2 separate regions of the Homo sapiens genome follow, and region 2 is linked to region 1. Evidence: promoter capture Hi-C in human tissues and cell types (Jung and others, 2019). All regions are on one chromosome and are shown on one strand. Each heading gives the region's core, a stretch centred on a gene start or on the middle of the fragment in contact. The rest is flanking DNA. Distances are from core to core; before and after follow the strand shown.

Evidence for each region. The method cuts DNA at HindIII sites, captures the fragments that hold promoters and counts their contacts. A contact is called where the count stands out against the background at its distance.
Region 2: a contact is called between a fragment that was not itself captured here and the fragment with the promoter of FMO3 in region 1, in 5 of the 25 tissues and cell types used here (aorta, mesenchymal stem cells, neural progenitor cells and 2 more).

What each region holds. Positions count from the first base shown.
Region 1 is chr1:171,089,178-171,093,004 of GRCh38, forward strand. It overlaps FMO3 (flavin containing dimethylaniline monoxygenase 3), which reads left to right and starts at 1,728. Exons shown (of 9, transcript NM_001002294.3): 1 at 1,728-1,804; 2 at 3,476-3,613. The coding sequence starts at 3,482. The HindIII fragment of the contact is 16,457 bases long and covers 1-3,827 here.
Region 2 is chr1:171,172,582-171,176,408 of GRCh38, forward strand. The region is part of intron 2 of FMO1-AS1 (FMO1 antisense RNA 1); the gene reads right to left. Among named protein-coding and RNA genes, the nearest start is that of FMO2, 11 kb to the right of the region's middle. The HindIII fragment of the contact is 6,992 bases long and covers 1-3,827 here.

The DNA.
Region 1 (3,827 bases), core at 478-2,977:
ATGCATCATCAGACATGACAACAGGTGTCACAAGAGATATATGCCTTGCCTCCAGCAAATCAATTAGAAGAAAACAAAAATTTCTTTAAAATACAAAGAAAATATAGAGCAAGAGAACAGAATATAAGTCTTCCACTCATATCCTCCAACAGCAACAATAATCTAGCAACCATCCAGGGATGAAAGTTTCTTCTTAGCAGTTTTGTGATTTGGAGGGGACAACAGAGTAGAGAATGCCCACTGCCCCAACCAGAGCCTGGGCATTTGAGATTCTGAAGATTTAAAAAGGGGCTCTGCAGAAAGCTGTGGCAAGCAAAGGATAGGCTAGAGAGAGACAGGACTAATAAATGTGTCGACTTCAGATACATTCTTGTGAAGGACAGCAAAGAATAGGTGGCCTTTTCACCTCCTAGAGAGATAAAACATCGGAGGCCAAGGTAGAATTGGGTGTGTCCTGCCAATCTTTAAATGAATAAGGCTATAGGAGTAGTATTGCTTCCTGAAGTAGTCACAATCTTTTCTTTGCATTATTTTAATTCTATTTATGTAGCATTAAAAACTGAAAAGAAGTTCTATGTAAAATGAGAGCAGAGAAAATCATGTTGTCTGAATTGCAGCCCTAGAAAATTTCATGAACCTATGACTTGTTTTTAATTTTTATCTACAAGTCACATTTGCTCATTTTTAACTACATGCCACATTTTATATGTACCTATGTATACATGTATTTATGTGTACATACCCTTTAATCCTCTAATCCTTGTTAAAAAAAAAATAGCCAGACAGGAATTAATAGTGTAGTTATCCCTATTTTATTAATGAGTAAATCAACGATTGGAAAGGTTAAGTGATTTGCCCAAGGCCACAGAGCTATAGAAGTGATTTGGAATCTCTCATACTCACACTTCAGAGATGAAGATTACTGTCTTCAAAAGGCATGAAGGGTAATTCCTCAAAATTAGACATATACCAGTTTACACTAAGTATCACTTGCTTAATGAAGGAGTTAACTAGACAAAATGAGTGAGATGTTATAATTCTAAGTGACATCAAAATATAGTTGATAGGAAAACTTTTTTTGAAATTCTACTATATTTCATGACTGGGAGTTAGGTGCAGTTTATTTTGTCTAACTGCCAACATAATTTTACCTGGTACTAATTTTACCTGGTTCCTGGTACTAATAGATCAATTTGTGGAATTTTGATCTTTTCTGTGACCACACACTGTACTCAGAAACAAGTAAATATAAGCTTGAGAAATACAGGCCTTTGACCCCAAAATTCCAAGACAGGACATGAAAAGAGAGAGCAGAGAAAAGTCATCCTCCTTATTGGGCTATCTCAATTAAGTAGCTAAGTTTCTACAGTATTTGGAGGACTACTATGAGCTACCCACAAAAGAACTAGGAATAAGGAAAACAAGGTAAACTTTCAAATAACACATAATAAAATGGAGTACAGAACTGCAAAGTCACCTGGGAGAAACTACTTGACTCCCAGGCCAAGGGTCCAAGAGTATAACCAGCAGCTTGTGTTTACCATAATCAAAGGAAAAGTAGAAACTGGGTGGCCATGGGAGACTGGCCTACAGTCCCATCCATCACAGAGGGTTGGCGTGTGCTCACCCATTCAAGGACCAATAAATGAGTATCTCTTTAAGAGCAGCTCCTCCCATTTTTCAACAATCTTCCTAATATGTAGGCTCACTAGAACATTTTCTCTTTCAAACTGCCCAGACGGTTGGACAGGACGTAGACACACAGAAGAAAAGAAGACAAAGAACGGGTAGGAAAATTAAAAAGGTAGGAGGCTGAGGCGGGTGGATCACCTGAGGTCAGGAGCTTGAGACCAGCCTGACCAACATGGTGAAACCAAATCTCTACCAAAGATACAAAAATTAGCCAGGCGTAGTGGTGCATGCCTGTAATCCCAGCTACTTGGGAGGCTGAGGCAGGAGAATCACTTGAATCTGGGAGGCAGAGGTTGCAGTGAGCCGAGATCACACCATTGTACTCCAACCTGGATAAAAGCGAAACTCCGTCTCAAAAAAAAAAAGAAAAGAAAAAGAATAAAAGGTGATATAGTAAAGGGTTGAGGGTGGGATGGGTAAATGAAGAAGGAGCATGCTGTAGTTTTATACCAAATATGGCTAGAATGAGAATGATATAATTCAGGCAGTTTGTTTGTTTCTGGGAATCACGGATCATGATGTTTAATCATCCAAGTCTATTTCCCTGCATAGCTATGTGATTTTGTCTAAAAAGAAAAAAAAAAGTAGTGAAAGAAGTAGTGGTAGAGCCTAAAGACAGTGTCAGGAACAGAAAAAAGTTAGGAAACGTAATTTTCTTAGAGGGGAATGGACGCTGAAGGTAGTGGGAAAAAATTGTTTTTAGGTAAGAACATGACTTCTTTCCCCAACACCCCCCGGAGAGAAGGTCTCACTCTGTCACCTAGGCTACAGTGCAGTGCTGTAACCATAGCTCACTGCAGCCTCAAACTCCTGGGCTCAAGCGATACCCCAGCTCAACAGGACTATATAATCCCAGAGTAGCTGGGACTATAGGTATGCACCATTTACTTGTCTTTTTAATTGAGAAGGTGAAGTACATTATTGATGGGGAGAAGGGGTGACTACCTGGCACACTGAAATACAGACATCTTCAGACCTTGTTCCTCATTATCCGTATCTAAGTAAAAAGAAGATACAGATTGCGTGTGTGTGTGTGTGTGTGTATGACTGTGTGTGTGTATACATATACATATGTGTTTCTTCATTCCCATATACAGGCATATGTATGTGGGTGGGTGGGTGGATGTGTCTACAGGTGTTTTAGTTGCGAATCTTTATTTCTTCTGCTTACTCTTTTTGGTAGACAGTAAATGACAAAGTCCAAAAGCAAAAAAGATAAATATGTATGCTGGGTCATCAGTCTCTTAATTTTGGAGAGCTGATGACTAAAAACAAAGTGCTTATTTTTTTTTCAGAAGAAAACTTTCTCTTTAGAAATTAGAGAGAAATGAAAATGTAGTTAGATCACTAAAAGGAATTTGTTTTCTAGAGACAAGGTCTTACTCTGTCACCCAGGCTGGAGTGCAGTGGTACAATCACGGCTCACTGCAGCCTGGAACTCCTGAACTCAAGTGATCCTACCGCCTCAGCCTCCTGAGTAGCTGGGAGTACAGGCATGTGCCACCACACCCAGCTGATTTTGTTTGTTTTTTGTTTTGTTTTGTGGAGACAGGGTCTCACTCTGTTGTCCAGGCTGCTTTCAAACTCCTGGGCTCAAGTGATCCTCCCACCTCAGCCTCCCAAAGTGCTGGGATTACAGGCGTGAGCTACCATACTCAGCCAGTGTTTATTAAAAAGTAAAGTTTTTATTAAGCCAAAGAGCGAAATCAAAATAAATAGATAAATAAGTAAATACATTTTCAGCAATGTTGTTACTGGAAATGTTCTCTGGGCCTTTGCACAGGTTACCATGGGGAAGAAAGTGGCCATCATTGGAGCTGGTGTGAGTGGCTTGGCCTCCATCAGGAGCTGTCTGGAAGAGGGGCTGGAGCCCACCTGCTTTGAGAAGAGCAATGACATTGGGGGCCTGTGGAAATTTTCAGTGAGTAGCATGTTGTTGTAATAGACAGGAAAATAGGTTGGGAAGTGTATAAGAGCACACTGTGTGCACACAGGTTTCCAAACCTGCTACCATGGCAGTTATCATATCTGTTAGAATTGGAATCCACTAAGTACAGTGTCAAGAGCAGGTTGGAAAGTAACCTCCTTGCAAGTCAGAAGTAAATTAGACAATGGGCTTTGAAATTCTCCATTAC
Region 2 (3,827 bases), core at 425-2,924, 83 kb after region 1:
AAGCAATCACATTCCCACAATTAATGTACTAGTTATAAACTATTACGTACTTTTGAAAGTATGTTCTTGAAAGACTTTCACTGGGCAAGAACTTGTTCAGTAGTTCAAGTATGTGCAATACCTGGCACACAATATGTACTCAATAAATATTTACTAAATAAATCCATACACTCATCATTTCTTTAAAAATAGCACCCCATTCAGATATCACACCAATTTACTGGCTTTACCACCTCCACCTACCACCCTGCCTCCAGTTACTATGGAAAAAAAGTCTTCTATCCATAACATATTCTCATAGAATATGAGCTACAATCCTAGTATATAAATATTTTAAAATAGACCGGAAATTATCTTTGACTTATAAAATTAAACAACATAATTTTAAATCACACAAAATATAGTAGGATTAAAGTTATGAATGTATCTGCAGAGAAGCCAGCAAAAATTCAAGTTGTTTGTTTTCCTAAACATTAGTCATATTGGAAATGTGTTGTGTTAAAAGACAAAATTACAACAAATCTAGTTTTGCAGGCGTTAATTGGCCTTTATTTGTGACTTTAGAATTGAGCAGCAGTTCAGTCCAAAAATGGCTCAGAATGTTCCACCCCACCAAATGTGTAGGTTATATTTGTAACTAGAGAAAAGGAAGTGACATACAGAAAACTGCACTGAGGTACAGAGATAGCCCAATTGGTTATAGTTCACATCTGTCTTATTTGAACATGGTTTGAAGAATTGGCCATCTGTGATTGGCTGAGATTCTGTTCCTAAGTTAGGTTTTCAGTTTGTTTAAGTGCTGAGTTGGGCTGCATTTAGGAACTCACACATAGGCCTCCTTGGGCCCACTTTTAATTTGTTTTAATAGTTGTTCATGTGATTTAAAGGATTTGATTAAACACAGTAAAGAACTTCCTGGTAGTGAGGACAGCTAAAAGAATGAGTGATAAAGAGAAATTTAGCATCTCCCTCTCTAGGAAGCTGTATAAACACACTAACTCCTTATAAGTCTCAGTAAATTTCTATGTAAAATTCATAATGTCATGGGTATAGTTTGAGCTAAAATTTACTTCTGCTAACTATAACTTCTGTTTTTAAGTTTGCAGAGTAAATAAATTAAGTGAACAATATTTTGATGGGGGAACTTAGACTACTGAAGAAAACAAAATGCAATCTGGTACTATTTTAACATAAAATCCGTACAATTAAGAAATATAACAATTATAAATAATTACTTCTTTGCAAAGAAAGTGCTCCCGAAGGTCCTCACCACACCTGAAAGTAATCATACTGCATTTATTTTTAAATAAATCATTATTCAAAGCTTTCACTAATTTTCACTGACATCCTAAAAGGTAAATACTAGTCAGTCTCTTTACATTTTGTTTGTTTGTTTGAGATAGACTCTTGCTCGGTTGCCCAGGCTGGAGTGTAGTGGTGCAATCTCAGCTCACTGCAACCTCCACCTCCCAGGTTCAAGCGATTCTCCTGCCTCAGCCTCCCAAGTAGCTAGGACTACAGGCGCACATCACCACACCGGGCAAAATTTTATATTTTTAGTAGAGACAGTGTTTCACCATGTGGGCCAGGCTGGTCTTGAACTCCTGGCCTCAAGTGATCCTCCTGCCTCAGCCTCCCAAAATGCTGGGATTATAGGCATGAGCCACCACACCTGAATAATTCTTGTATTTTTAGTAGAAACGGGGTTTCGCCATGTTGGCCATACTGGAGTCTCTTTACAGTAAATTCAAAAAGTATCATAAAATAAAACTAGTTTACATTAGAAACAGTAAAAAAGCATGTAAGCAAGTCAGAGTACTGGCTACTAGAAAGTAATTTCAAATACTAGCTATTTAAAGGACCAGGCACCATTGAAAAGGATTGATGCAATATAAAGAGACAGGTGAGATTTAAAAGGAGAGACTACATTTTAAAAGTTGGTCTTTGAAATGCATAGCTCTGAGTGAGAAAAGAAAAGGCAAAAAGAAGGAAGACAAGCCCTGTGGCAATTTGGCAGTGAAGGGAGAAAGAAGAAAAAAAGGAAGAAAAAAATTAGGGTCCTATAAGACAAAAAAAGAACCATAAAATTGGAGGATTCAAAACCCTTCCCCAATCATCATCATTAAAACAAACAAACAAAAGGAAAACTGTTAAATATCTGAACTTTTCTACTTTTTCAGAAGAGGGCACCACTAAATAAGGAATCTGGTAAAATATCCTAATTTCATAAAAACAAATAAGATAAAGATAAGCTATGTCCAGAGAGATAGGAGAGAGAGATGAAAACAAGAAAAGAAGGAAGGAAGGAAGGAAGGAAGGAAGGAAGGAAGGAAGGAAGGAAGGAAGGAAGGAAGGAAGGAGGGAAGGAGGGAGGGAGGGAGGGAGGGAGGGAGGGAAGGATGGAGGGAGGGAGGGAGGGGGAGGAGAGGGGAGGGGAGATGGGGAGGAGAGGGGAGGGGAGATAGGGAGGAAGGAATCAAAAGGTTTTCTAGAGATCCACTGGGAGAATTCTGTTTATACCTCACTGGTCAGAGTGGAGATTGCATGGTGACTTCTAAGTACAAGGGCATCTGAAATAACGATAAATAATTTTTCCCAGCCTATAGTGGAAGGTAAAAAGAGAAAAATGAACTTGGAAACTTTTGGGTAACCAATAAACAGTATGTGTCATACCTCTTCTGTAACTGAAATATATTACTTCCATGCTCACACTTTATTAGTAATTCAGCTAAATGTAAAAGTATAAGCTGAAAATGATACTACCTTAGACTTTTAAAGTCATTGCCCCATTGCCTTCGAGCTTCAATATTGTTAAAAGCCCATTGTTCATTCTACTTCCTGTCCTTTATATGCGACTTGTATTTCCTTTTCTGAAAGGTTGTGGAATCTCTATCTCTGGGGTTCTGAAATTTCTTGGTGAATTGCCCTGGTTTTGAGTCCTTTTTATATTATCAGGTCTGGAACTTTACCAGTTCAATTTCCACAAAGATCAAACCTCCAGTCTCCATCCAGGATGAAGGAAGGTCAGTCTCATAGTTGTTTGCAGAATGAGGATGAGAAATATCCATTTCATAAAAAGACTTTCAACGAATTCCTCTGTCATGTCCCATTACCAACATCTTTGCAGTTCCTGATGCCTCCAATCACTCACTAAGCTATCTTAAAATCATCTGGCATGCATTCACTTTTTTCATGTTAGCATCCCATTCGCAAGCCCTTGGTGTTAGCATTCTCTTTTCTGATAATTCATCAACTCACTTCTCATCTTCAAATAGTGTGTTGACATTTCTTCTCACTGTAATCTCAATCTCTTACTTCATTTATCCTCTAAGTTTATGCCTTTTAAAATACTCTTTCGTGGGATTTCAAGTGGAAGCAGAGGAAAATGTGTCTTCAGTCCACCATATTTAATCTGAAGTTCTCTCAATTTCAGCTGTAGTGTAAAGAATGAATTGGTAGGGGGAGAGCTAGAAGTGGTTGGAGTGGGAAGGTGGTGGTGGGTCAAGACTGAGAGGGAGGAGACAATCAAGACTTCTAGTAAGAAGTGGTGAGTATCTGAACCATGATAGTAGCAGGAAAAATAGAGATAAGAGGACAAATTTGAGACAAACTAAATTGATAGAAGAAACTGGAGTTGATAAGTGTCGTAAAGAAGTCCAAGAGGTACAGCACATAAGAGGAATTTCTGTAGGTTACATTTCAATAGTAGCAACAGTGAGCTTTAACTCCTGGCTGGGGTAATCAGAAAAAATGGGTGAAATTTGATAGATGGAGATGGAGGCAGGGCATTCTAAGTTAGATGATTAATCATGAGCATTTATTTGTAA